Linked DNA regions of Homo sapiens: regions 1, 2, 4 and 5 are each linked to region 3. Evidence: promoter capture Hi-C in 16 types of primary human blood cells and fetal thymus (Javierre and others, 2016). All regions are on one chromosome and are shown on one strand. Each heading gives the region's core, a stretch centred on a gene start or on the middle of the fragment in contact. The rest is flanking DNA. Distances are from core to core; before and after follow the strand shown. Region 1 holds the start of ASB1 (ankyrin repeat and SOCS box containing 1). Region 2 holds the start of ILKAP (ILK associated serine/threonine phosphatase). Region 3 holds the start of LRRFIP1 (LRR binding FLII interacting protein 1). Region 4 overlaps PER2 (period circadian regulator 2). Region 5 overlaps PER2 (period circadian regulator 2).

Region 1 (5,933 bases), core at 863-3,362, 800 kb before region 3:
AACAAGCCGGCATGAACAGCTCTTTAAGCCACCACCCCAGTCTTCCTTCAGTAACTATCCTCCCCTGTAATTACTCCACAGTTGCGGTTACTACAGAGTGAAAAAGTTCAAAGTCGGAGTGGGAAAGATTCAGGTGTAGGGCAATAACCAACAGGTAAATGGCGGCCACAGGACTTTTGCTGAGCCCTCTTCTGGGCCCCCTCTGCTGGCCTCTGTGCTATCCATTCCTGGCCCTGCTCAAAGTAGACTCAGAATCTTTCCCCAGCTCCAGATTCAAAAGCAACTTCAAGTTTGTGTTTCGCTGATCAACTACTCCAATGACAACACAACTGCCCCAGGATAGCACTTAAGCTTCAACTGAAAATCTGTTGCCCCTCTACCCGAGGCCGAAACACACTGAATAACAAAACAGCAGTGCATGAGGATATAAAAAGGAGCCCTCAGCTGAGTGTGGTGGCTGCCGCCTGTAATCCCAGCACTTTGGGAGGCAGAGGCGGGCAGATCACCTGAGGTCTAGAGTTCGCTATCAGCCTGGCCAATATGCCAATATGGTGAAGCCCCGTCTCTACTAAAATACAAAAATTAGCCGGGCATGATGCCAGCACCTGTAATCCCAGCTACTAGGGAGGCTGAGGCCAGAGCATCGCTTGAACCCCCGAGGCGGAGGCTGCAGTGGGCCGAGATCACGCCACTGCACTCCACCCTGGGCAACAAGAGCGAAACTCCGTCTCAAAAAAAAAGGAGACCTGTGCAGCCGACAAAGCCAGTGTTTATTCCCCAGGAACTCTCTTTATACTGGGAAGTAGCTGTTGGTCCTCTTTTTCCCACGGAACACGCATCATTCCGTCTCTCACTCTCACATGAGATGACATCCTAGACCCTAAGGTCCTGGCTGTCTCTGAAGTCAAAGTCAACGCCAACCAAAGCCCAGGATGGTAGATGCTTTGTCTGGCTTTTTCTGGTCACTGCAGTATCCTCTGCTGGGTCTAGCCAACAGCAGGTCTTCAATACAAGTCTGTTAAATGATTGGAAGGAGGTGCAGAGGGAGGGATGGATGGAAAAGCCTATCTGCACCAGTCTCCAAGTCAATCTTTTAAGATGTTTAAGAAATGTATTGGTTTATTACTAAGTAGGAGAGGAACCCCTCCAAAGACAAATATAGGCATGTAAAGAAAGCCCAGAACACACGAAACTATTGGCGCGAATGGCAAGCTCAGAAATCCAGCAAGAAGGAACTCCCACCACACCACCGGGAAACGGGAACCTGTCCTGACCGCTTCCTTCACATCTGCATGGTAGGGACACTGCAAGGTGGAGACCCTAAGTAGGACAGTTATTTTGGAAGGTGGGTGTGAGCCTTTCTATCTGCCTCCCTTGCTGGTGGGCCAAAGGCCCCTGGACATGTTGTGTCACTGACGAGCTCGCTGGAGACGGCGTCCCCGTTGTCCCTGGTCTGTGCCTGTGGTGGGTGGGAAGGCTGCCCCCCGCTGTACCACCGGACACGCCGTGGGCGGCAGAATGGTGAAAAAGTGCCTGCCCTCCCTAGGGCTACCCTCTGGCTGGCTTTCCTGATCCGTGCGCTCAGAGCTGGAAGGTGGCCCACGTCCTACTTTTGCGGTTGGGTCATATCAAATCTGTATCGGCTAACGGGAAGGAAGTTACGAGCAAGTTCCACCGGAAAGAAAATCTAGCGCGGGGACTGCACTCGAGGCCGAGGAGAGGGCAGCGCGTCCGTGGTGGGGTCGCCCAGCACTGCGAGCCGCGCTGAACCCCACCCCCGGCCTGCAGGGTGCGGCTCCCTGGCTGCCCCGTGGACCCGGCCAGCCCGGGACGAGGACGCAGGACCTCGGCAGGGACGCCGGAGCCAGCCCTTCGCCATCCCCACACGCCCCGCGGCCCAGTGGCCGCGCGCACGTTACCTGCGGAGCCCGGCCCTGCCCGCCCGTCTGGGCTGCCGCCCTCCGCCATGGATGCTTCCGCCTCCGCGGCCGCCCCTGACCCGCGCACGCCCCTCGGGCAGGAAGCAGAACGACCCGCGACCACTTCCGGCGCCGAGGGCAATGGGGGGCGCGTCGGGGTCGCGGCTTCCGGCGGGCGCGCGCCGGCCTCACTGGTTTCCGGGGCCGCGCAGGGGCCACGCCTCCGCTTCCGGCCTCGCTGTCTAGCAGGGCGCTGGCTGGTCCCTTCGTCCGGCGGGAACTTCGCGGCTAACCGACTCTCTGGATGCCGGCCGCGCTGTGGTTTCCTCACATAAGAAGCCAAGGAGTCGGAAAGCCCGTTGCCTGAGGCAGCAGTCTGGGAATTTCGGTCCGGCGGGCCGTCCCCACCCACACGGACGGGGCGTGGCTTCTGCCAGATGTGGGCGGGGCCCCGAGGGCCGTGGCGGGCGGGACCCGGGCCTCGGCCGGGCTGGCTTGGTCCCCGCAGGTGCCCCCCGCTAGCCACGAGCAGCCCCGGGAGGGTGGATTCGGAGGCGCGGGGACTGGTGAGGGCCCACTGCAGGGCTGAGCGTCGCAGCGTGCTGTGGTTTTAGATGAATGCTCCTCCAAATCCCTTCCATGAAGCCCTCAATCAGGTCGGTAACTGATGACAGCCAGTGGCTGACGCGAAGTTCATTGAATAAATGAATGCATTCGTGAACAACCGAGTAACATTTCTTGCACACTCCCAACTTCAAATATCGCAGCGTCGTCCCACCATGAGTATTGGTGTTGGTCCTAAAGCACGGATTCCCTTGGCTCCTCCCATTCTCCCCTGCTGAGTTAGACAGCGGGGCCTCATGCAGGAGGAGGATTTGTACACAGCACAGCAGGAGGCTGATGAGGGAGTCCGGAGACCCCAGCAGTCGTGGGCGTGAGCTGCTGGCTCATCCGTGTGTACAACATTCCAGACTGGAGTAAGGGAAGCCGCAGGCGCAGCCCCGCGAGTGCCCCTGCTGAGGCTGGCCCTGGGTGGCCCAGATGCACCAGGGGGCCCACTGGGGGCAGACCTGGCAGGCCCTGTGGGGGTTGGAGGCGGGAGTGGGGGTACTTCCTACAGTGGTGTTTGGTCTTGATGACAGCAGAGAGCACCACTGGCATGAGGGACAGGTGACTCCGATGATGACGCTGCCAGGCCAGGAGCCAGGGGTGTGCCCAGCCCCTGGCTCCACCACAGCTGCACATCCCGAACTCGGAGCTTCAGCAACTCCGAAGCCTGAAGCCGCCTCACGTGTTGTTGGATGGATGAATGGATAAACGAAATGCCGTCCATCCATACAATGGAATCGTACTCAGCCTTAGAAAGGAAATGCTGTCCGTCCATACAATGGATTCGTACTCAGCCTTAGAAAGGAAGGGAATCCTGACACACGTCACAACACGGATGACCTTGAAGACGTTATGCTGAGTGAGATAAGCCAGCCACAAAAAGACAAATACAGTACTGTGTGATTCCAATTATTTGAGGTCCCTGGAGCAGTGAAATGGTGGAGCGGAATGGGGGTTGCCAAGGGCTGGGGGAGTGGGGAATGAGGAGTTAGTTTTTCATGGGGACAGAGCTTCAGTTGAGGAAGATGAAAAAGTTTTGGAGACGGGTCACACAGCAATGTGAATTGTGCATTAACAGTACTGAACTGCGCATTTAAAGCAGGTTAAGTTTTATGTTCTATATATTTTACCACAATTGTTTTAAAGAATTTTTTAAAAGAGGTTCCGGTGCAGTCAGTCAGGGGTGCGGGTTGGGTGTTGGGTGGTTCAGAGCACCCAGGTGATTCTAAAGTGCAGCCTGGTGAGAGCCACGTCTCCGGGGGCCTCCGCTGCTCTGCCTGCCTGGTCCCGGTGGGCTCACAGTGAGCGTTCTGCGTGTCGGTAGCCTTTGCATCAAGGTATTGAGTCCCTGAGCAGAGTGGCCCTCCTGCACCTGCACCTCCACCTTCCCTGCCACGTGTTGCCCTTGGGATCCTGCCTCTTAGAAGAACCTGAGGCCGCACGTGGTCTGTAGCGGGGAGGTGGCCTCACATGCCCACCTCCGTGCCTCCTAAATGCCCACATGGTGCAGGGCAGTGTCCACAGAGCCAGCAGTGCTGGAGGGGGAAGGACACTCAATTGCTGGCCACTCTGCCAATACCATCACCCCCATTTCTCAGGACCCTGAGATCTGGGGGCCTGGTGCTATGCCCAAAACCACATAGCCCACAGGTGGCTGAGTTGGGATCACATCCAGACTGTCCAGCCCTACAGCCTGTCTCCCCCTCTGACCTCACCTCTCCAGAGTCCCTCTTCTTCCAGGTCCTCTGAGCCCAAAAGACCCACCAACACAGGGACACTCAGTGACCGCTAGAGATGAAGCAACTTGGGTCCCATCACCTACAAGCAACAGGGATTTACCAGTGCCTACCAGTGCCATCCCAGCCCAGCACAGCAGCAACAGGACCAGTGCAGTGGGCTGTCTTGCCCCTCCAGGTCCCAGTGGCTCCCTCCCGTTTTCCCACCCCTAAAATCACCCGTCGCTTCCTGTTGCCTCCTGGAGGCTCAGGCCTCCCCCAAAGTGTCCCCAGTGACCCCTCTGTGGAGCCTAGCCCAGTCTTTGTGGTGGAAAATTTGGCAGTCTAGCTAAAGCATAAGAATGAATAATCCTTGATCAGAAATGCCTCTTCCAGGCATTCATTCTAGGGAAATAATCAGATGTGGGGGAGATTCAGCTACAGTAGTGCTCATTACCATCATTTTATAACAAAAATGTCCAACAATGGACTTTCTGGTTCAGGAGGTCTGAGAAGGGGCCCCCATCCCTCATCCTTCCTGTTGCAGGGAACTGGGGGCCCCTCTGGAAGCATGGCAGGTATATGGGGGGCTGGAAACATGAGCTCCACAGCTGCAGGCTGGTGAGGATCCTGCTGGGCCTGGGTGTGCTGGTGCTGCTGTCGCTTAACCCCCACAGCTGTCTCCGGGAATTGGGCAGCAGATGTCACCCAGGCAGGGACCAGAAATGGGAATCTCTCCTGATCCTAGGCCCTGTGGGCCTGTGTTTGGGGTGTCTCCTCCCAGGAGGCCCAGCCCTCTCTTCCCCTTTGAAGGATCTCCTGCTTTGAAGGAAGCAGGGGATCTGAAGGTTTACCAGGTGAGGCCACGAGATGAGGGCAGCCCGCTGACCCTCCAGGCTTTGCCCTGGAAACATCTTTACCAGCCCCTGCCCCGCAGACCCTGTCTCAGGCCTTGGAGCCCACCTGCAGAGAGTCAGGGTGTCTGCCCCAAGCTAGGGAGGCAGATCCACATCCTTCCAGCTGAGTCACCAGGACAGGGTGACTCCTCTGAGCACCAGCTGCCTCCCTGTCAAATCGGGCTGATAATACCCACTTTGCAGGCTTTGTAAAGACACAAAATCCCATAGAATGTGCCACAGGCTTCCTGGGGCAGAGAGAGCCTCAGGACACAGTGGGCATCGGTGCCATGGCTGCTAACGCTATGGCATGGCTTTGCTGAGTGGAGCCACGCCCACCTCCAGCCTCCCACCCCACCCCACCCTGTCCTAAACTGAGCCCACCTTCTCTGCCCAGCTTGGAACAGAGCAGGGCTCAGGGGTAGACGCAGTGTCCCAGCAGGCCCTCAGCTTGGGGCTGGTGGGGCTGGGCAGGGCCCAGGCCGTGATGTTCCTTGCAGCCCTCGAAGCCTCCCTCTTCCAGCCAGGTCGGCCTCTGCCTGGATGTGGTTTAGCCTGGCAGTGGAGGTCCCAGGGAGGACCGGGAAGCCCAGCTGTGGGGACTGCAGAGGACAGTGTGGGCCCTGGGAGTCCTGCCAAGGGGGTGCCCTCTTTCAGCCCCCCTCACAGGTGCTGTGCTGCCTCCCTTGGTGTGACCGAGAACTCCACTAGTGTCAGGAGGCCACAGCGCTCAGTGAGCCCCTGCATCCTCTACCAGGGCCTGCGTCTCTCCAGGCAGCACCTGTGGAAGGCAA
Region 2 (5,850 bases), core at 356-2,855, 580 kb before region 3:
ACCACCTTTCTAAGTTCCCCTTGATTAAAAAACCACCTAAATCCTACCCCAAAACATCAGCCTAACGGCTAATGTCAGCATAACCAGAAATATTCCAACCCTAAGATAAACCTCTCTTCAACCAGAAACATGCTAACCCTGAAATAACCTCTCCTCCAATAGCCTCCCCTCCGACCAGAGACATTCCAACCCTGCAATAAACGTTCCCCCACTTCCAAAACCCTTAAATATCCTTAGTCTGTAAGAGAGAATGCTTAGTCTGTAAGAGAGAGCGCTCCTGATCGAAATTGGCCAGAATCCCCTCTCAGGTTTATTCTCTGAAATAAACCTTTTAATGTTGAGCCGCTTTTTGTATTTATTTCCTCTTTCTTTAACGGTTACAAGCATTGTTACTTGAGTGTTTCTGCTGTAATGGAGGAGGCAGCATGAATATCTCAAACGGTTGCTAGTGAGAAGCCACGCAGATGAGAGGCATGAAGCCTTGTTGGGCTCCCTCCATGTCCTACAGCCAGAGAGCGTCAGAAATACATCTGCCCCAGAATGAACTGGGCTGAAAACTCTTTGCATGGAGGGAGACCACATAACCTGGGGAACTTGGGTAAACGATGTTGGAACGGAGGTGTAAGATTTGGGTTTGTGTTAGTTGATTTGGGGAAACATTTATGGAAACGGGCCTTTGCTCCGGATTGGATGTCAGGAAGAGGAGGATTCCATGATTGGATATCTTGATGAAGCTTATCTAGACGGCAGGAGGACGAGACAAAGGCTAAACATGTAATGGTAAAGAAGCAGCAATCACTCTTATTGGCCAAGACGAGGGGAATGTGGTCACTTTTGTGGCTTGGACAGTGTTCCTGTTTTGTCTGTGTTCACACTTGATTACACAGTGGTCTGTTTTTTTCTCTTGATCTGTATCACGGCCTGATGTTGGTGTTTTATGAAATTGTTCACATTCAAAGAGAACACCCAGGCCTAGCTGTTTGTGCCAGACCAACCCCAAGTCCTGGCTGCAGAACCAGGCCAGCTCCCCGATGTCAGTGGCCGCCTTTCTCTTTACAGGCATGGAGGGGGACACCATTAAGGAGGAGCCCCTCTTCTCCGCTCCCCACAGACACCAGTGGGTGCAGACAAGTCAGGGAATGCCTCCTTTCCCTCCGGCATCTTTTGAGGTTTCCGTCCTGACGCCCAGGGCCGCTCCATCCAAGCCTCGGTTTCTCAGTCTCTAAAACAGGCCAGAAACCAGGCACGCCGTGGTGAAAGGACGAGCCGAAGAGATGGCAAGAGCTCCAGAAAGCCTTCCCAGGCATCAGGGGCTGCCCTTGAGCTCAGACGTTTCTCTCTGGACAGGGCTTCTTGGACAGGAACTCAACGAAACTTGACAGAAATCGGACACCCCCAGCCAAGGAAAAGCAGGAGGGGCCCGGGGTTCGCCAAGGCGGGAAACACCGCGGGGCCCAGACGGCGCCGTCCGCCCGGCTCGCAGTCGGGGCGCGGGAGGGGCCCACGCGCATGCGCACCGCCCCGCCCCCAGCCGCCCCGCCCAGCCCGCGCGCAGCCCTCTGGGGCGGCCGGGCCACGCCGCGCGCCGATTGGTGGCGTCCGGGACTCTCCCTGCAGGTGACTGACGGCGCCGGCCGCCCCTGCCCGTCGCCCGCCCGCTGCTGCCGCCCGCCCGGGGTGTGGAGCCCGGCCGCTGCTCGCGGGCTGAGTGTCTGTCGCTGCTGCCGCCTCCACCCAGCCTCCGCCATGGACCTCTTCGGGGACCTGCCGGAGCCCGAGCGCTCGCCGCGCCCGGCTGCCGGTAAGCGGCGTTGCCGCCGGGCCGGCCAGGGAAGGGAGAGCAGGCGGGATGGGGGCGGCCTGAGGCCCGGGGCGGCTGAGGCGGCGCCCGCGCTGGGAGGCGGCGGGCGGCGCGGGCTGCACGGGGCCTGCTCCTGCCTGGCCAGGCCCCGTCCGGCCCACTGGCGGCCCTGTCGGAGGCCCGGTCGCTCGCGGAGCTCGGAGAGGCCGCTCCGCCATTTTCGCTACGCAGGAAGGAAAGGGCCGAGCCGTCGTGGCCACGGCCCCTCTGCGTGGCGGTGAAAGGCGCCGGCGCGACCGCGTGGGCCGACCCGAGGGACCGGCTCTGAACGCCCGGCGGCACCGCGGGCCCCCGCGCCCCGATTCCACCCGCGGCCTGGGCTGCCTTGCGCGTCGCCCGCCCGCGGCTTCCGGGCCGCACTTCACCCGCGGGCTGTGGAACGGCCGCGTTCCGGGCCGGTGCAAGTTCAGGGGCTTGGCGTTTTTATTTGCACTGGAGATTGAATTAATCACCATCTTAATCCTTCGTGTTTTTGAAGCCTGGAAGACAGGATGCCTCCTCTGTCATCCTGTGATTTTGTGATAATTAACAGTAGTTTTTTTTTTTTTTTTCTGGTCCACGGGAAGTTCCCCCTCTCCTTGAAGTTAAGGGGTCCGCTCATCTCCTAAGCGCTGGCCCCTGCCAGTGGGAGTCCCTGTGGGCTGTGGTTTGAGCTCAGCATCCTAGCAGCTTGAAACAGGGCCTGTGTTAATCCCTGCGTCCTGTGGGTTACAGTCTCCGGGTTTCATCTGTCAAAACGCGTGAATATTTCATATGCAAGACTTCCAGCTTGATGTTGTAGTTTAGGGCCTTATTACAAAATTTAACTTGGGGGCAGAAAACCTGGAAAACTTAAGACGTTCAGATTTCCAGGCCCACCTCAGCCCCAGTAAATCCGAATCCCTGAGAGTGGGGTTTCCGAATCTGTTACTAAATCCCCAGGCCAACCCAGCGGGGGCTGGAGACCAGTGGTTTGGGAGCTGCTGTTGTAGGGTAGACGGAGGTGAGTAAGGCCCAGCCTTCGCTTTCTAAGAGCTGCTTTCTGAAGGGTACTAATTACGGTAATTAAAACTGGCAAAAGTTAATGACTGTGGGAAATGCTGAGGACTCTTGAGGAGGGATTGTCGGGCACCGAGAGACTGGGGAAGGAGGCAGTGTTTGAATTGAGCTTCCAAGGATGTTCAGGCTTGTGATTTGCAGTAATTCTGGGCGAGAAAACATTTTATTTTATTTTACTTTTTGAGACGGAGTCTCACTCTTGTCGCCCAGGCTGGAGTGCAATGGTGAGATCTGAGCTCACTGCAACCTCCGGGTTCAAACAATTCTCCTGCCTAGGCCTCCCTACTAGCTGAGATTACAGGCGCCGACCACCACACCCGGCTAATTTTTATATTTTTAGTAGAGACGGGGTTTCACCATGTTGGGTAGGGTGGTCTTGAACTCCTGACCTCAGGTGATCCGCCCGCCTCGGCCTCCCAAATTGCTGGGATTACAGGTGTGAGCCACCGTGCCCTGCCCCCACTGACCGTTCTGATGGTACAGAGCATCTCAGTAACTGGTCCTGGAGTCTTTGAACTTGACTCAGCCATTCATTTTCAAAATAACCACGGTTTTAGCTGTGGGTAAAAATTGGATTTGTGTAGCAGTCTTTTTTCTCTTGTCAATGGAGTATAATTTCTATCTGAATATATTTGGGACAGCATTTGGATTCACCAGTGTGCGTGTAAACCTATGAGTCTTAAAATCTCCATTGCTTTTTACCTGCAATTAATTAGGTTCTGCTCAGGAGCAGGCTCCCTTGACTGACAAAAAACCTGGCAACTCAGAATCTCATAGGTTGGCACCTTAGCAGCCTTTTGCCAGATACAGTGGGAAAGGTACATCCTGTTGCCGTTTTTTCCAAACTCAGTTTCCAACCTTGACTGAGCTGAAAGGGTGGCAGAGGGGGTGCATGGTGTTTAAACTGCTGACCACCCTGAGATTGGATTGGTCAGCTGCTCCCCATCTGCCAGGAGGGCACTGACATTGTCAACAGGTCCTGCTTGGCTGAGTGTATTTTTAAAAATAGCTTTAAAACGAAGAAGATCTCAGAATTTGTAGATGATTGGAAGCTGAGAGGGATAAGTACTAAAATGAGTGACAATTGGGATCCATAGTTATCATTGCAGGCTGTTAGCTACAACCAACAAGATGAGATTTGACAGGTTAAAATCGTTTGTACAAGAACAGAATCTGGTTTCACATACTTGTGAAAATACTGTGATTTAAAAAAAAAAAACATACTTTGAATAAATCATATTGATTGCTAAAGTGAATGGAATAATGAGTCTAAACTGTGCATCATGACCCTCACACATGATATGTGGGTACCACAAATCTCTAATGCAGTGAACAATAAAAGACCTCGTTATTTTCCCAGAGCGCAAGAAAAGTTGTTCAGAAAGTGTAACCAGACTACTTGGTTTAGAATCCAGCTCTTCGCTTACTAACTGTGCCTTCTGTGGCTATTCCTACATGTGTAAAAAGGGGTGACACTTGCCACTGTTACTGTACAAATTAGTACAGTATGTATGGTGCTGCACATAGTGTGGGGTAGAATGTATAGTGTTTTATAGATGTTAGCCAGGGTTATTATTTTTGAGACAGCCTCATTGTGTCGCCCAGGCTGGAGTGCAGTGACATAAACACAGCTCACTGCAGTCTCGACCTCCGTGGGCACAGGTGATTCTTCCACCTCAGCCTCCTTGGTAGCTGGGACTACAGGTGCGCACCACCACAGCCAGCTAATTTTTGTATGTTTTGTAGAGACAAGGCTTTGCCATGTTGCCCAGGCTGCTCTCGAACTCCTGGGGCTCAAGTGTTCTGCCCACCTTGGCCCTCCCAGAGTGCTGGGATTACAGTGGTAAGCCACTGTGCCTGGCTGAGCCATTAACAGTTGTTTAAAAGTGGAAAAACGCAGTCTTAAATGAATTATGGGAAAGCACTGAGTGTCCAAAGGGAGAATACTACACTGCTTATATCACATCAAATGTATTAATATTTTGTTTAGATCTTTTTATTTTTGTTTTAAACGTTGCATCTAATGTTCCCACCCCTAAACCTCTTAAATGTTTATAATCTAGAAAAATACATAGAATGCACTAAATATTTCAGGTATTTTGCTAAATTAGTAGTTTTCATCCAAGCCCTTAAAAGTTTTAATTGCTGAATGAATCAAGTTTTTTAAAGGAGAGATGTATATATTTTACCTAAAAAAAAGTGTTTGTTCATATCAGGCAGAAATGGAACTTTCCTATGTCATACCCATAAAAGTGCCGACCTGATGTCTTTAAGATTGGCAGCTTATATTGACAATCCATGTATGTCAGTTGAAGGTGTCATGGTTTAAAATTGCTTCGCCAGTAACTTGATTTCACTTTTATAGGGTGGTTCTTTTACTTATTTGGTTGCTACACTAGTACTTTAAAAATTGATGGTCAGTTGTTGAGGAGGAAATAAAATATTTGATGGCCACACCATCTTAAAAATACTTTAAAAAAATTGGAGGCTGGGCTCGATGGCGCATACTTGTAATCCCAGCGCTTTGGGGGAACAAGGCAGGAGGATGGCTTGAGGCCAGGAATTTGAGAAGAGCCTGGCACAACTTCGTGAGACCCCTGTCTCTACGATTAAAAAAAAAAAAGAAGAATATTTGAACATAAAGGTTAAGGTATTAGAGGAAAACAGATTGTAAAACTACAGGGTTGAACAAGAAAAAAGTCATAAAAAAGTGAATTTGACTATGTAAAAATTTAAAATTTCTGCAGGACAAATGATACTATAAAGGCAAAAGACAAACCGAGAAAATAATTGCAATATACATTACTAAGGGTATAAGAAAGGCTCACAGAATTGATGGGAAAAAATAAAACCCACTAGAAAAATGGTCAAAGGATGTATCCTCCCAGTTCAGAGGTAAGGAATACAAATGGCCCATCAACAGAAAGTTGCTGAGGAACTATTTACCTTTT
Region 3 (5,361 bases), core at 1,200-3,699:
AATTCTGACAGCCAGGGGAGGTTTCTTCTTCTCCATTTTAGAGACGAGAAAACAGAGGCCCAGAGAAGAGTGAGTAACTCACCTTCCTAGGATGGCACAGCTGGCTAAGAACTATGTCATTTGAAAGCCCAGCTCTGACTCACAAGTCTATCTCTGTAACTCCAACTGCATCTCCCTCGGTGGGAGGGAGGACCTCAGGGCTCTCAACCCAAGGAGTGTTCCCTTGCCTTCCTTTTCAATCTATTTTATAAAAACCAGCAGATAGGCTGGGCGCAGTGGCTTACGCCTGTAATCCCAGCACTTTGAGAGGCCAAGGCGGGAAGATCACTTGAGGCCAGGAGTTTGAGACCAGCCTGGCCAACACGGTGAAACCCCGTCTCTATTAAAAATACAAAAATTAGCCGGGTGTGGTGGTGCGTGCCTGTAATCCCAGCTACTGGTGAGGCTGAGGCAGGAGGATCTCTTGAGCCTGGGAGGTGGAGGTTGCAGTGAGCCGAGATCATACCACTGTACTCCAGCCTGGGCAACAGAGTGAGACTGTGTTAAAAAAAAAAAAAAAAAAAAAAAAGAAGAAAGAAACACCAGTGGATAAAAGGCAAACTCTGGAAATTTTCATTCTTCTCATTCTTCTGCCCCATAACCACTGACATCAAGACAAGGCTTGCGATTCACTGGCCACCTCTGGCCCTTGCAGGGAACACTTGTAAGGCACTGTGGTCAAATGCATACATAAGTGACTGTCTTCACAGGAGGGAGTTATACTCAAGCTACTATATTTAGCAAATGTCTATATTTAGCCAAAGGTCCTTTAAATGCCTTGTACTTCTTTTGTTTATTAATTAATGTAACAGACATAGACAAACACCTAGTATGTGCCTGGCTCTGTGCTGAGCTCTTGGGATACAAAAGTAAGATATTTCCTGTCTGGGTGTCACCTTCTACAGGTGGACAAATAATGATAAGGTATCCTGACTGCCATGCCAGGCGCGGGCATGCCATGGAGGGCCGTGGAGCCAGGGAGACTTAGGCCTGGTGCGATGTGAGAGGGCTGAGTCTGGAAGGTCTCCTGGAGGTCACAGTGGGCTTCCAGGAATGAATAAGGGTTTGCCTGGAAAGCCCTTTTCTGTATCATACAGAGAAAAACAGAAGTCTTTATTCACTCAGTAGTCAACAAATACTGAGTGACTGCCACATGTCCGTAAGAGCAAAATCAGGTATTTACAACTACAAACACCTAAGGATTGGTTACAGAGTAGATCCCCCAGAATATCTGACGGATACAGCCAGACACCACAGTCCAAATGGCTTGGAGGTGTTTCCTGTGGGAAGAATCACATGTGGAAAAGCCAACACGGAAAAGAACCTGTAAGGCGGGTTACAAGGCAGAGACTTTCTTTGCATTCATACACCCACCTGGCACACAGTTCAAATGGTACAAAGGGAACACAGTCAAAAATTAAGCTTCCTTTGTCCCCCTGGGGCCGCAACCTATTGGCTCCCCTTTTCCCAAGCTGCTGCTCTCTGTCCCTGTACGGCTTTCTGGATGTCATGTACATTCTTTAGCCTTAAGGTAGAATCCTTGCGGAAGGAAAAAAAAAAAGGCATTTGTACAAATACCCATTCTAGTGCGCCTTCAATTTGTCACAGGTAAAGTTCATCACCAAACATGATCTTAGTTACAATAAACTCTGTCCAGGAAACTTTAATGAAGACGTTTCAGTGTGCCTGGACCCGTTTCCAGGCTCAGTCCTGAAAGAAAAATCACAGTGATCCCCAAGTTCATCTCTGAGCTGCACCTTGAGTGACATCGATGGATGGATGACAAATGGTCACCTGAGCGACTCGGCCATTTCAGCAGGGCCATGTGGCCTCCGGCGACCGTCCACTGCCTCCAGGTCGGGCCTAAGCCCCCGCCTCCTCCCATGCCGCACAACAAAGCGGGGCGCTCGCCCCCACCCGGCCAGCCCGGGCCACCTCGCGCGCTGGCGGCGCCCGGCTCCTCTCCCGAGGGCGCAGCGGCCGACGGTGGCCGGGGTGGGGGAGGGCGCGCAGCGTCGCGGGCTGGGCCCGGGGCTGGAGAACGGGTGCGGGGTCCGCAGGCCTCGGAGATCGGGGCCGGGGCGCAGCGCCTGGGGATCAGCGCCCCGGCGCGCGCCTGCCCGGCCCACCCGCCTGGAGCCGGACGCGCAGTGGCACAGACGCACAGCGGGACAGACGGACGCCGGAGAGACCCTGACAGCCGTCCGGCCCCCGCGCCCGCCCGGCGCCCCCCGGCTGCCCTCCCGGAGCGCTCACCTCCCGCGCGATCTGGTTGAGCGCGTCGTCCTCCGCCGTGAGCCGCTCCCGGTTGGGGAGCCGCTTGCGCCCCGATCCCTGGGTGCCCATGTCCATCGACCGCGTCGCCCGCAGCTGCCGCGGGGCCCGTTGCTCCAGCCGCTCGCGCCGCCCCGGCCCGGCCCCGGCCCCGGCCCCTCCCTCCGCCGCGGCGTCATGGCGTCAGCGGGCGCTGGGCCGGGGACGCGGGGACGCGGGGGGACGGGGGCCGCGGGGACCCGGGGGAAGCCAGAGCCGGAGGTCCGCAGCGCGGGCCAGGGACTGCAGGGGCCAGGGACGGCGGGGCGGGGGACGGGGGCGGGGGGCGGAGACGCCAGGTGTCAGGGACGATGGGGGTCCGATACCACGGGGACGCTGCGGATGCCCAGGGCCGGGCACGCGGGACCTGAGGGACCGGGAGCCCCGGAGGGTGGACTTTGCGGGGACTGTTTGGCGGGCCGGTAATCGCGGAGCGACGCGCGCCAGGGCGGTGGGCACCGGTTGAGTGGGGACCTGAGCGGAGAGCGGGGGGGTAGGAAGGCTTTCAGAGGCCTGAGTTGCCTTGAGGGGTTTGCACGGAGGGGTGAGCACAGGATTTGGTTCAGCCTGGCGCTCCCCATTCCGCGGTGAGTCGGGGTGGAAGTCCCTCGCCGGGGTGAGAGCTAGGCTCTGGGGTCAGGCCGAGAGGTGCTCGGATCCGCCCGCCACCGCCGCTCCTGTGACCTTGGCCAGCCTCCTGGGCGCCGGCTTCACAGCGGCATGGTGTGGATGTGTGCGTTTCTGTCTTTACACGCGTGTTCTCCGTGCTAGCATCCATCCTTCTCCCCGCTGTCTGCCCCCTGAGATCAAGGACTTGTCACTTCTCTGGTGGGTCCCCAGCCTCTAGGATCGGGGCAGGTGCGTCGCAGCTCTCTCCTAGTTGTTGAAAAAGTAATGAACTTACCTGTGCTCTCTGAAGCTCACAGTCTATGCTCCAGAGGTGGATTTAAAAGTAAAGCAAATCGGAGGATTAGGTAGGGGTTAAAAGCCCCTGCCTAGGGCACGGCAGGAGCACCGGGTGGGAAAGTTACTGGTGTGTTTGGGGTATGGGGAGAACTTCAGTGTGGCTGGACCTGGGGAAGGATGGGAGGGAGGGTAGTGATGGTAGAGGAGAGGAGGCTGTACTGAAGTCACCTGTGATTTTTTTCCCCCAGTGATAAGGACAGTTAACATTTCGGTGTATTTCCCACCAAGTGGTGTGACCAGATTGCTTTGGATTCTTAAGGAGGTGGCCTGGAAGCTGTATGAAGGTGGGAAGAGGAAGAGGGCCCTTCCACCCACAGTGGCAGGGAAAGCTGTTGGAGGTTTCATTGCAGGGAAAAGACAGCGAGTCCAGTGACATGGGAGGGAGGGCAGATCCAGGTGACATTGCTCTGGGTGCCTGAGCTGACGCAGGTGGGTTGGCAGGGCTGACTGTGGCATTGTTCATGACTGAACTCCGGGAGCAGAAACTGCACCTGCACATTGTAGGCACTAAGGAAATAGGTGTTGACTGAATCTTCCAGGCCATATTTACATTACTTCAGAGGCCATACTCCTTAAGTGACATAGTCCTCCTTGGGGGAAACCTTGAGCCGTGGCCACTTGCACTGCCTTGGTCTTGCTGGTGGCTGCTCACTGTTTCCCAGCCCCTGGGGCACTGTGGGGACTGTGCGTCTTTGCCGAGGCTGGTCCCCATGAGTTCACTCATTCCTGCACCCACACCTGCTGCCTGCCAGCTGCTGAGCTGGAGGCTGGGGCATAGCTGTCCGAGAGGCAGACACGGCTGCTGCCTCTCAGGGCTGACTTGAGATGCCTGGAGCTCCTTAACTAAAGCCATATCCAAGTTCCAACGTCTCCTTTCTAAAAGAAGTCTCCCTTTGCTCCCTGTCCTTCATTGGAACTTTGAGCCACTTTTTGCTAACACCTAAATCCTCCATCCTGATGTGTTGAGGCCAGGAGGGCAGGCGCTGACCCCATCTTCCTCATCTTTAAGCCTTCACCAGGGACTGGCTGTGCCAGTTGCTTAGTGGAGTGCAGTGGTTGAACTTGTGGAACAGAGTTCAGTTCCCAACCCTCCTCCCCACTTTCCCTGTTGGATTGTTGTCCAGAGACAGGAGATTCACTGCCGTGGGGACTGGCCAGAGGTGTGTCTGAACAGCTCCCGCTGGTAGACAGTGTTCTCGGACACTGTGGTGAATTCAGCTTCCTGCCCCTCCCCCATCATCTGTCCACTTCCAGAAAAGAGCCGCCTTTCAGAAATCATCAGAAACAACATTGCTGGGTCCTCCCATGACCCCATGACATAACAACTTCCTGGCTACAGTCCTCTTCCCCTGGCGATGTGCTCTCAGAGTGGACCGGTTCTCACTTCAGAGTCAGTTTCCGCCTCTAAATGGAAATACGGGTGCCCACTGTCTTAGTTCCTTTGTGCTGCTGTAACAGAACGCCTTAGACAGGGTCATTTATAAAACCACGGAAATGTATTGTTCACAGCTGTGGAGGCTGGGAAGTCCAGCATCAAGCCTCCAGCAGAATCAGTGTCTGGTTGAGGCCCATTCCTCACAGATGGTGCCTTCTGTGTGTCATCTCATGGTGGAAGACGGGCTCCCTCCAGGCTTTTGTGTAAGGGCACTCATCGCGTTCATGAGGTCTCTGCTTCAGGACCTGGTCACCTGCAGGCCCCACCTTGCATTGAGGGTTAGGTTTTGACATATGAATGGGGGGGCCACCGCCATCCAGACCATGGCCTCTACCTTGTCAGGGTAGGGACAGTATTCTAGGCAAGAGCCCTTCCAGGGCTTCACACACAGGCAATCGATCAATCATCCTTACAGCTCCTGTCCTCAAAGGCCCAGGTCTGGAATGAATGGTGAACAGCAGTTCCTGTCTGGGCAGAGGGGAGCTAGACAGAGGTATCAGGCAGCTTGGTGGGTCTTCTCCGTGCTTGGGGTGCCTCCTGGAGGAAGATAAAGACCTGCAAGACTCCATCATGCTGATCCATGGGTTCACCGAAAAATTGTGGCTTTT
Region 4 (5,454 bases), core at 574-3,073, 620 kb before region 3:
TTTTCCACCCGCTGCTGCATTAGTAATCTGCTGCTGCATGGCAGATGGCCCCAACGCTTAGTGACTTCAACAATGAACTTGTATTACCTTGCACGGTCTCTTTGGGTCAGGAATTTGAGAGCGGCTTAGCTGGGTACTTCTAGCTCAGGGTCGTTCCTGATGTTGACGGTAAGATACTGGTGGGGGCTTCTGTCACCTGCCAGCTGGAGGACCGGCTTCCAGGAGCCTCACTTGCAGGCCTCTCACACACTGCTGGCTCTTGGCAGAGGCCTCAGCTCCTTGCCATGGGGACCTCTCCGTAGGGCTGCCTGGATGTCCTCACAGTGTAGCAGGTGACTTCCCCAGAGAGGAAAAGAGGAAGCCAAGGTGCCTTTTAGGACCTAGAATCAGAAGTCAGGTACTCTTTGTTAGAGGCAAATGCCTAAGTCCAGCCAAGGTTTAAGGAGAAAGGAATTAGGCCCCACCTTTTGAGGAAGGAGTGGCAAAGAGTGTGGACACGTTTCAAAATCATTGCGTCACCTTTTCTTTGGCCTGCTGTGAATGTCCAGTTGAAAATCACAGATGTCCTCTATATACCCTATGCCTCTGGAGCCCTTCTTAGTTATTGTCTCTCTCTGCTACTAGAGTGCCAGCTCCTGGGACAGGGATTTTGGCCTTTGCTGCCAGCCACCTCCTGGCTGACACCTGGTCACCTGCACCTTACTCAGTTTGAATGACTTTTTATCTTTTGAGACAGAGTCTCACTCTGTCGCCCAGGCTGGAGCACAGTAGCGTGATCTCCGCTCACTGCAAGCTCTGCCTCCAGGGTTCAAGCGATTCTTCTGCCTCAGCCTCCCAAGTAGCTGGGACTACAGGTGCCTGCCACCACGCCCAGCTAATTTTTTGTATTATTAGTAGAGATGGGATTTCACCGTGTTAGCCAGGAAGGTCTCGATCTCCTGACGTCGTGATCTGCCCGCCTCGGCCTCCCAAAGTGCTGGGATTACAGGCGTGAGCCACCGCGCCCGGCCAATTTGAATGACTTTTGTAACAACTCAGATCTCAAGTTTGTTACTGATTTCTCTTTTTTTTTCTTTTAAGGAATGTGTTTACTGTGAAAACAAGGAAAAAGGTAATATTTGCATACCATATGAGGAAGATATTCCTTCTCTGGGACTCAGCGAAGTGTCGGACACCAAAGAAGACGAAAATGGATCCCCCTTGAATCACAGGATCGAAGAGCAGACGTAACCCCTGCCCCACCTCAGCCCGGCAGCCAGCGAGGTACACCAGGTGGTGCTTGGAAGAGATGAAAGATCTTCATGGCTGTTTCCACTGAAATGGACACATATGCTCATGTTGCTTTTTTTGTTTTAGAAAAAAAAACAACATAGTTTTCTGAAGGGGCGACTTAAAACTGTGGAGAGTGGGGAGAGTTCGGAAAGAAATATGTTTTTATATATAAAATATATATGTGGAGTTTTGTGGGATGGGGAAGAGATTTTAGTTGTTATTTAACTTGAGAAAGACTAAGCGCCTCTTAGTGTCAGGGAAGTTGCCTCAGTGCTCCCAGAAGTCCTGTGACTGTGACGAGACCTCTGTCTGCTGCACCAGCTGGGGACTCTGGCTTCCAGAGCTTTCCCAGGGTGTTTGGATCAGATCAAATTTTGTCCTCTCTTGGGGACTGCTTTTTATCTGAATTATCATTTAGTCAAGGTAGAGTGTTTTTTTATACATACCAAATGGAGATAGCAGCCTCTCCTAGTTTTATTTCAAAACGTTTCACATTAAATGGTGTGAAGCGTTGTTTGGCAAACCAACAGCTTTGGCTTCTGGTGTGGTCAATATTTCAGTCTGACATAGGTTTTGTTTGTAGTGAACAAAGTTGAAACATTTGCTCTGGACTAAAGAAGCCTAGTGGTTTGTGTGGCCAACTCCATCGGATGAATGCACACGCAGACAGACCCTCTGTATATTTCTGCATTATTCTTGTCTCCTTTTCAGACCATGATGGCCAATATGGAGATTAAAATATGTCATCAGTCATCTCTTTATGGTGACTTCCCTTTGCAAACCAGGCTGTGACCAACACATGTGAGACCCAGTCCTGTTTGGTTTTCTTCCGTTGGAACCACCCAGACATCTGCTTCCACCCAGCCAAGCCCACATCACATCTCCTGGCCGAGAGCAGCCACTGCCACTCAGTCTGACAGCTTGCGACTGCATCTGTATTTTCAGGGGTGCAGTGAGCTCACCTCTCCCACTGCACCCTGGGTTGGGTGCACAGCCCTCATTCTTTTCATGAGCCCGACCTCTCTCGGAGCAGCTTCAGGCCTCTGCCAGTGTCCCCAGCACTTTTAGGTCATTTGGACACTTGGGGAAAAGTGAGGCCAGTCTGCCCGGCTTTTTACAAAACCTCATGTTGCATTGTATATTCCAAAGATGGTTCAGAAAATTTAATATTGGTCCCTGGTGGAAATTCAAAGTTATCACTGAAGAACAGTTGACTTAAAATTGGACCAAGACTATGAGGCTTAAAAGGGACCAGGGTTTTCTTTTTTTTTTTTTTTTTTTTTTTTTTTTAGATGGAGTTTCTTTTTGCCCAGGCTGGAGTGCAGTGGCGCCATCTTGGCTCACTGCAACCTCTGCCTCCCAGGTTCAAGCGATTCTCCTGCCTCAGCCTCCTGAGTAGCTGGGACCACAGGCGACTGCCACCACACCCAGCTAATTTTTTGTATTTTTAGTAGAGACAGGGTTTCACCATGTTGGCCAGGCTGGTCTCGAACTCCTGACCTCAAGCGATCCACCCACCTCGGCCTCCCAAAGTGCTGGGATTACAGGCGTGAGCCACCACGCCCAACTGGGACCAGGGTTTTCTGTTTTTTGATGGAGGTGAAATCTCTTTGTAATCCACTAGGTTTTCATCGTAAAACCATCTTATGCCTGACTATTAAACCTATTCTTCATAAACACAAGAACACTTTAATTTTTCGTTAATTTACAAAGTAACATCAGCTGCCTATGCCTATGATAAGGTAGCAGTCTGCATTCTTATGGCCATTAGATGTTACAAACTCCTTGCCTCTAAAGTCAGATCATGAAGGGATAGGTGTTCATCTAAGGTTACAGTTATGTTACCGAAACACAAAACTGCCAAAATCTTACTCTGCTGTTATGAATGTTTACCATCAGCATTATTTTATCATTTAATATGTGCTCACTGATTGTTAACTGTAGCTTCAGCGCGTGCCAAGCAGTTGACTTAATAGGATCATCTTGTGAATTTGTTTACGTGATGCCAAGCATCAAGTCATGTTTTCTTTAGTGTGTGTGCTTACACAGGTGTTAAACAGTTTTTCTCTATTTTAAACTGAGCCTTCTTTTTAATATATTCCCGAAGAGATATGTAAATAAGCTCTCAGAGTTTCTGTGATGATTTGTTGAGCCTTGCTGGACAAGTGGTTTGTTTGTGTGCAAACCAAACTTTCTTTACCCAGTGCAATAGATTTGTTTGACTGCTTGTGTCTTTTTATGACCTGTTTGCCTTTTAGAAAATTGGTAAATAAAGCAAGTATATTTTTATTTTTACTTGTATGTATTTTTCACATAGCACAAAGGAAAACCTGAATAGAGAGCAAAGATTATTTAAAAAAAATTTTTTTAAAGAACTCCAGGAATTCTGCATTAAAGAATCTTACATCCCAAAGGCCTCCTGGCGGTCAGCTCCCTTATAGCGTTTGCTTCTTGCTGGCTCCCTTTCTTCCTGTGCGTGTCACACACACACCCTCCTTCAGGCTGCAGGAGTGAACTCACGTAATGCAAACCTAATCGTGTCATGCCCCACAGTCTTTTCACTTTTAGTTGGAGGGGTGCAGCTGTCTGGCTCAGCCCCAGAGTGCCCCCAGCTCTGCCTCCACGCACCTCTGTCTTCCCTGCATCCCTGCCCTGGGTTACCTGGCCTTTCCAGGCTGGCTGCCTGTCTTCTGGTCATCGGGCTAGGTAGGGCTAAAGGTGGGGCGGTCAGGAGGCTCCACCAGGAAGGTCACATGTCTCCATTGCGAATGATATGGGCAGGGCGGCATAGTCCCCTGACCCCAGCCCTTCTTTCACAGTGATGAATGAAGCCTTGTGAGGCCAAAACTGTGGAAGCCCGAAGAGTTGCTCCCCATCCCTCCCACTCTTCAAACCATGACCCTGGGGGTGGGAGCAGAGAGCTGAATGGATCCTGAACCCAATGCCCAGCCTCTGAGAAGCTCCCTGAGCAGAAGGGAGGGGCTCTCCTCTGCCTGCTAGCCTGGCTGCCTAACGCCAAGTGCTGATGGGATAAAAGGCAAAGTCCTCCCTAGCGAGCACAGAGGCCTCTGCAAACTGCTCTAAATGGCCAGATATGGTTGTTTCACTGAACCTGAGTGCTTTTGGAAGACTCTTAATTGTATTTTTATTTACCATATAACCCCAAGGGATTTATTTCCAAACCAAACGGAGATTCTCTGAGTCTCCTGGGCAGATTGCCCACAAGGGGCCTGGACAGTCTACAGGCCGCAGCTGCCTTTGTTCCCCCAGGGATTTATGGCCTGCCACCCCCACTGCTAACTGGTATCCCCGCAGCAACCACCACCCTGCCCAGCCTCTGCTGGCCTCTGTTCCTGGCTCTAGGGGGATCAAAGGACTCAAATGCTCAGGAAGTCCATACTCAGGCAAACTTTGAAGGCAGGACTGGCCCAAGGGACAAATGGCAGGAAGTGTTGGCTAGGGGAGGCTGCTGTGAAGGAGGGAGGGAGGGCTTGGTGACCTCAAGATAGGCCAGGCTTCTGGGACAAAAAGGCCATGCCAGCTGGCCAGTGCACCGCTAAAGGGAATTGAAGCTGACCTTGCAGAGGGGACCTTGGGCAACTTCCAGTCCAACCAAGAAGGATTTTGCTGATGTACAGCCTTCTCTACTTAAGCTCTTTTCCCTGTAGGATCCTTGGTCACACCGAGGCATATCCCAGTGCTTAATTTCTCCCTCCCTCAACTCTAGACAGCATTCCTCAACCCTCCACCCACTCCACTGTCAGACAAGGCTTTTGAGGTCCCTAGTCCTCCCTTTAGCCTCCTCTCTCATAACTCCTATCACCTGTCCTTTTGTTTTTACAAGGTCAACTTTATATCATGTCCCATAACCATAAACAATCCTTCCTTGCCTTCTGTATAGATTAATTCTAAATGTTAAAACCCTATGAACACTGTTACATTGTTGTGACTGTGAAAATTGTCTCCTGAGCCAAGTAATGTGCTAAGATTACATTTCTTGGGAAGCTTTTTGTTTTTCCTAGAGTTCCTAGTTGCTTTTCTTTCTTTTTTTTTGCTTGCACCATTTGCCTTTATCATGTCCTCCTTGCCCCTCAAATCCAGTTCCCCATCCAATCAAGTGTTCAGTCAGGCTTTACCCAAAGTCCTCTTTTGGGGCCCTGATCATCCTGTTGCAATATAAAT
Region 5 (5,832 bases), core at 2,645-5,144, 660 kb before region 3:
GAGGCTTCTGATATGCTCTTGCCTTTGGGCCAAGTAATGTTCTCCTGTGAGCCACGTCTGCAGTGCTTACAAGGAAAAAGGAAAGATTCCTCTCCTGTGCACTACTTCTCGTACCCACTGAACTTTCTCAAAAATACTGGTAGTCACACTGCTGTTTTTAAGCGATGATGTAACTTCACCAGGACTCGGCAAACCACGGCTCTGTCAGGTCATTGAACAGCTGGCAGGGCCACTTGGCGTTTAGTCAGAAGAAAGACAGGCTCTGGGTGTGCTTTTACCTTTTGAAAACTACTCTGTTTGGCAGAGGGAGCCAGAAACACACAATTCCATAAGCTTGGCAGAGACTGTCGCCACACTTCTGGAAAGCTGGCCCACCTTGGGAACCAAGGGAGAATTAGTCTAGAGGGGGCCTCTGATGGACCCCTCCCCCAGCCCACGCACTCCCCCCTAGGGACCAGGCCCTCCTTTCAACTCATTATGCTCATCGTGTACACATTTGTAACAAGTTTGTTACCATATCTCCAAGTCTAGAGCAAATTAGAAGCAGTAAATGAATAGCAGTGACTGGTGACAGGAGTCAAGGCCACTTGGTTTTCAGAGACTGGTAGTTCCCAAGACAGAGTGAGCTGCCGTGCTGAACCCTCACCGGCCTCGAAGGGTTCCTCGTGCTCTTCCTGGGGTGACATAGAGGAATCAGAATCCACTCTTTAAGAAACCAGGTACAGGAGGAGCAGATGCCTGAGCTTCCTGCAATTCGGAGTAGCTCAGTCCCTGACCACCGGGGAGCTAGGAGGCTGACACTTTTGCCTTTATTTGCTTTAAAGTCTTGTAGTTCTAAAAATGTAGGGATTTAAAAGTCTGAATTGAGATCATTGAAGGTGTCCTAGTGAGGCCAAGACAATGCCTCCCCGGTGCACCTCCTTCCCTCCATATTTGGATGGCTGCGGTCACATTTTCCTCAGTTACCCAACCGTTGCCATGGAGAGTGCGGCTGTTTATTTAGCAGGACAAACATTTTCTCAGGATTACAGCAGGCTGGCCTCAGGGAGTTGGCTCCTACCAGGAAGTAGAAAACATGTTAGAATATTTGGGGTTGTAAAATCCTGCAGGGCTTGCAGAGACAGTACATGCTGTATGAGCCCTATTATGTAAAGTTCGAAAACAGGCAGAATTCACTAGGCTGCAAGAAGCCAAGCTAGTGAGTCCCCGCGGGGTAGATGGTGGCTGGGAGGGCCACCAGGAGCCTCTGGGGGGCTGGCACTGTCCTGCCTCTGGTGACATGTGACATGGCATGTTGTTTGTGGATATACATCAAGCTGTGACCTCATGAGGTGGGACTCCTCTGGTGATTGAACACTGATTTCTGATTTCCACAAAAAATGCTTTTCCGCCTTAGGTTTGCAGGTATTGAGTACAGTAAGACTTTACCAGTCCTGGCAGTGGCAGTGGAGGCTGGAACTGGGTCCCAGGCTTGCTTTCGTTCCTAATTTTTAAACACTATTATGGAAAGTATGAGTATCTCTGAAAGTGGGGAGGATAGGGTAACGAACCCATGCGACCCCACCAGCCAGTAGTCTCTGCTCCTGGCCCCACTCCTTCCCCACCCCCACCAGCTGCTTTTCCTCCTGATCCCAGGCTCTCTGTTCTTGTGGTGGACTGCACTTTCTGAATGGTGCTCTGTCAAGTTGAGGCAACCCAGCTACCAAAAATGTGGCCAGGTGACCTGGTCAGGGGTCCGAGCTTAACCTCTTTCTTTGAGTCTGACTGTTCTTAGGGGCAGAGCCAGTAGGCGGACATGCAAAGAGGGCCTCAAGGGCAGGTTCACGCCCAGAGGCTCATGTTGGCTTTTGGCAGCCCCTTTTCAACCAGGCTGCCATTTTCCCTCCTGGGCTTTGGTACCCTGAGCACATAAGTGCATGCCCACCCTCCCTCCCCCTACCCGCCTTGAGGTGGAAACAGGTTTCCTAGGAGCTCCCCAGGAACAGCTGGTCCAGCTGGCTATGGGCACACATCTGTGGAGGGCAGGAGGCAAAGTCCACTTTGACAGGGACGTTGGTTTTGCCAGCTTCTCAAAATGAGGCTGGTCTATTAGAGCCGCTGAGGCTGAGAGACGCATTTTCTGGAATGACGAAGTTTCTGATAATTTGGCTTTCACATTTCTGCCAAGCTTACTCTACCCTCTTTGCAAAAATACTTATCTTCCACCTAAGGTAATGTCGGGGCACCAGTGAATCGTATTTAGACAGGCTTACAGGGGATGGACTTAGGGGTGAAAACCAGGAGAGCTACGTGCAAAGCACCCGGGGCCCAGACAGCATGGTGGCTTCAGATACCTGATGCTCCTCTAAGGACTGCCTGGGCTGGAGGTGGCACTGAGTTCTTAGTCCTTTAAATATAAGAATACAAGCCAGAGACAGCTGCCATGACAATTCATTCTCTCTCTTCCAAAATTACGTTTGTTGCCCATCTGTTTTTCTTTTTCGTTTTCTCTCTCTTTTTTTTTTTTTTTTGAGATAGAGTCTTGCTCTGTTGCCCAGGTTGGAGTGCAGTGGTGCAATCTTGGCTTACTGCAGCCTCCACCTCCTGGGTTCAAGCAATTCTCCTGTCTCAGCCTCCCAGGTAGCTGGGACTACAGGCACACACCATGACGCCTGGCTAATTTTTGTATTTTTAGTAGAGACGGGTTTCACCATATTGGTCTGGCTGGTTGCGAACTCCTGACCTCGGGTGATCCACCGCCTCAGCCTCCCAAAATGCTGGGATTACAGGTGTGAGCCACCGCGCCCAGCCGCCGTCTGTTTTTCTGTAGTGATTAGCAGTGATAAGCTAATATTACATTCCAGATATCTTGCATGGGTTGTGTCATTTAATCCTTCTAACAACCAGTAGGAGGCAGGAACTACTGTTACCCCATCTCACAAATGAGGACACAAGGCTCAGGGAGGTTAAGGAACTTGTCCGAGATCACATAGGAGGTGGTGGAACCCAGCTGAAACCCAGGCCACCCAGGACCTGTGCCCTTAACCACTCTGCTGCTGCCTCTGATCACCTTAATGACTCACTCAGAGCAGAAAGGACCAGCTGCTTATCTGGGGGAGGGCTGTGGGGATGAGATGGGTGGTGTCCAGGGTGTTGAGGGGTCAGGAGTGAGAGAATGCCCTTGGTACCCTGGGCGGCCCCTTGGCAGCTCCACTGAACCATGGCAAGAGCACCCTGAGAGGTCTCCTTGCTTCCACCTTGCCTCAACCCTGCAACTCCATTGAAGTGTAAGTGAGATCTTGTTGCACAGAACTCTCCACAGTTCCCTATCGGAGTTCTGACTGCCCCCGCAAGGCACTCCGTGATCTGGCCTTGCTGCCGCCCTCCTACCGCTGCCCGCTCTGCTCCAGCCTCGTGCACCTTCCTCAGACAGGTCAGGTGCTTGCCTGCCGCAGGGCCTTTGTGTGTGCTGTCCCCCTGCCTAGAATGTTCTTCCTCTGGTAGCTCACTCTCCACTCTCTTCAGGTCTGCCTTCAGGCTCTCTTGAGAATGGAGTCTGAGGTGAGCACTTTACTGGGAATTGCAGTCCCAGGGTAGCAGTAGAAAAGGAAAAGGGAGGTAAGGAAGAAAAGTCTGGAAAGCACACACAAGACGACACCCTGCTGAGATGAGGCTCTGCCTTACAGAGACATCCAGCTGGGTGCTCACCCCCTTGGGACCTCTTCAGAAAGGCTGTGCCAAAACAGGAAGGAAGGAAAGAAAGACAACTTCAGAAAGGTCCATTTGAGGGAGAGAGGGAGGGGGCATTTTCTGCCAGCTCCTCCTTGCCTCCTGTCCAGCAAGCGAGCTCTCCCTCCTATCCAGCTGCCTCATCAGACCCTTTGGCAGCAGGCAGGACAGTGAGGAGCAGCAAGGGCCCCCACAGTGGTGTGGCACGTCATCCGAGTCCACACAGGGCAGGCAGAGCCAGAGATGCCCAGTGCCAGCCTCAGGTGTGAAGCCAGAAAGACCTGCTGAAGCACGTGGCTGCAAGCCTGAGAGAGCGAAGCCCAGGGACCCTGAGTCAGTTCACACACGAGGGCTCGTGCGCAAGGTCCTTGTCAAATGCCACCTACACCTGGGGCCACCCTCATTGAAATGTCACTCCCAGCCCCTCAATTCCCACTTGCTAGTTGCCTACTCTACTGTATATTCTAGTTTCTTGTTTATTGTCTGTTTCCCCCTAATGTAAGCTCCCTGAGGGCAGGAAAGATGTCTGCTCTGTTGTCTGCCCCAGTGCCAGCCCTCAGTGCTAAGCGAATAAGGGCAAGTCAGTCAGTGGGAAACTGCTGGCACCGGGCAGGCCCTGCCTGAGTGCCATCTGTCCTTTTTATTGTTGTTGTTATTTATTGTTCTTGGACTTGTTCATCTATGTCTGAGACTCTCCCCACATCAGTCTTTCTGGCCTCTATCCTTTTAGTGGGTGTATAGTATTCATAGTATGGATGTCCCAGGTTTGTGTCTTCAACAGTACGTGCCAGGCCCTGGGGATCCAGCATTGACCAACGCAAACCCCTGCCCCCATGGAGCTTAGGTCCCAGAGGGGAGGCAGGCAGTAAACAGCCCAGCCCCTCAGTGCTGGCGAGGAAAGCCCACAGAGCGGCGGTGGAGGCACAGAGAAGGAGCTGGTGGGGAGACGGTGCTGTTCATGCAGGCTGCCCAGGCATCTGCAAGAAGAGGGCTGTGGGCACGAGGGAGCAGCAAGTGCAGAGTCTCTGTGGTCAGAGCACACAGGGCTGGGGCTGAGGGGTGGGCAGTTAACAGGACATGCCCAGGAGATTGCAGGAGCTAGACTTGCAGAGCCTTTGGCCCTTGTGCACACTAGAATTGTGCTCTGAGCAAGGGTCTGAGCACGGGCCGGGCGTAAGCTAAGCCCCTTCACCAGGATCGCTCTAGATGCTGTGTTAACCATAGCAGGGCCAGGTGGAGGCAGGGGACCAGTCTGGAATTGGAGGCTGGCTCCTGGCCAGGATGATCGTGGACAGGATGCGTAGCCTCCCTGTTGATGGTTCTTCCCAGGTTTTTATATTCAGTGCTCACACATCTCTGAGCACATAAATAAGCACTTCTCTGCAATGGATTCCTGGAGGTGGGAAGAGTATGCAGATTATAAATGTTGCTGGGAACTCAAATTTCTCTCCAGAAATACCCTATTACTACACCACCACACACAAGAGCCACTCTTCTCCACCTGAGCAACGCTGAGTGTGATCAGTCCTGTTAATTTTTGGCAACCTGATGGGCAAGATAACCTCGTCCTTTGCATTTTCCTGATGCTAATGAGGTTGAGCCTCTTTCTACAAGTTCACAAATCTTTTGGTGTCTCTCTTTGTGGGAATGGCCTAGGCAGTCTTCTTGCTTAGTCTCTCTGTTCCCAAAAGGTATTACCATTCATCTTTCATTGAATTTGCTAGAACTGCCATTAAATGTAAAATAAAGAAAAAAGACTAGAATAACAGATTTGCTTATTTTGTTCCTGACTTTAAGGGGAATGATGCTGGCATTTTGGGTTTTATGTGACTCAGGATGTTGATAAAACCAGCTATGTAACCCACAATCAAGTATCCTGTAATTGAGATTTCCTCCCTTTGACCATAAGCTTTTCCTCTCAAAGCTATTAATATATGTAGACGGCCGGGCCTGGTGGCTCACGCCTGTAATCCCAGCACTTTGGGAGGCCGAGGTGGGCAGATCACGAGGTCAAGAGATCAAGACCATCCTGGCCAGCATGGTGAAACCCCATCTCTACTAAAAATACAAAAATTAGCTGGGCGTGGTGGCGGACACCTGTAATCCCAGCTACTTGGGAGGCTG

Evidence for each region. The method cuts DNA at HindIII sites, captures the fragments that hold promoters and counts their contacts. A CHiCAGO score of 5 or more calls a contact.
Region 1: a contact is called between the fragment with the promoter of ASB1 here and the fragment with the promoter of LRRFIP1 in region 3, in 5 of 17 cell types (activated CD4 T cells, total CD4 T cells, naive CD8 T cells and 2 more). The highest score is 8.6, in activated CD4 T cells.
Region 2: a contact is called between the fragment with the promoter of ILKAP here and the fragment with the promoter of LRRFIP1 in region 3, in 5 of 17 cell types (total B cells, naive CD4 T cells, non-activated CD4 T cells and 2 more). The highest score is 8.3, in total B cells.
Region 4: a contact is called between a fragment that was not itself captured here and the fragment with the promoter of LRRFIP1 in region 3, in 1 of 17 cell types (naive B cells). The highest score is 5.3, in naive B cells.
Region 5: a fragment that was not itself captured here is called in contact with the fragment with the promoter of LRRFIP1 in region 3 in 1 of 17 cell types (naive B cells); the score reaches 6.9 in naive B cells.

Annotation. Positions count from the first base shown.
Region 1 is chr2:238,423,106-238,429,038 of GRCh38, reverse strand. It overlaps ASB1 (ankyrin repeat and SOCS box containing 1), which reads right to left and starts at 2,112. Exons shown (of 5, transcript NM_001040445.3): 1 at 1,920-2,112. The coding sequence starts at 1,968. It overlaps LOC124908002 (a long non-coding RNA gene), which reads left to right and starts at 2,145. Exons shown (of 2, transcript XR_007088163.1): 1 at 2,145-5,933. RefSeq lists enhancers at 1,364-1,483, 2,996-3,531 and silencers at 1,734-2,253, 2,274-2,663. The HindIII fragment of the contact is 6,850 bases long and covers 354-5,933 here.
Region 2 is chr2:238,199,450-238,205,299 of GRCh38, reverse strand. It overlaps ILKAP (ILK associated serine/threonine phosphatase), which reads left to right and starts at 1,605. Exons shown (of 12, transcript NM_030768.3): 1 at 1,605-1,801. The coding sequence starts at 1,747. RefSeq lists enhancers at 724-1,596, 2,559-2,618 and silencers at 1,409-1,978, 2,099-2,188. The HindIII fragment of the contact is 5,343 bases long and covers 737-5,850 here.
Region 3 is chr2:237,624,675-237,630,035 of GRCh38, reverse strand. It overlaps LRRFIP1 (LRR binding FLII interacting protein 1), which reads right to left and starts at 2,449. Exons shown (of 24, transcript NM_001137550.2): 1 at 2,296-2,449. The coding sequence starts at 2,391. The HindIII fragment of the contact is 5,154 bases long and covers 1,464-5,361 here.
Region 4 is chr2:238,242,151-238,247,604 of GRCh38, reverse strand. It overlaps PER2 (period circadian regulator 2), which reads left to right. Exons shown (of 23, transcript NM_022817.3): 23 at 1,081-3,561. The coding sequence ends at 1,230. Among named protein-coding and RNA genes, the nearest start is that of HES6, 4.8 kb to the right of the region's middle. RefSeq lists an enhancer at 258-1,457. The HindIII fragment of the contact is 6,913 bases long and covers 1-5,279 here.
Region 5 is chr2:238,281,120-238,286,951 of GRCh38, reverse strand. The region is part of intron 1 of PER2 (period circadian regulator 2); the gene reads left to right. Among named protein-coding and RNA genes, the nearest start is that of PER2, 4.6 kb to the left of the region's middle. RefSeq lists enhancers at 2,849-3,348, 4,196-4,696. The HindIII fragment of the contact is 3,450 bases long and covers 2,170-5,619 here.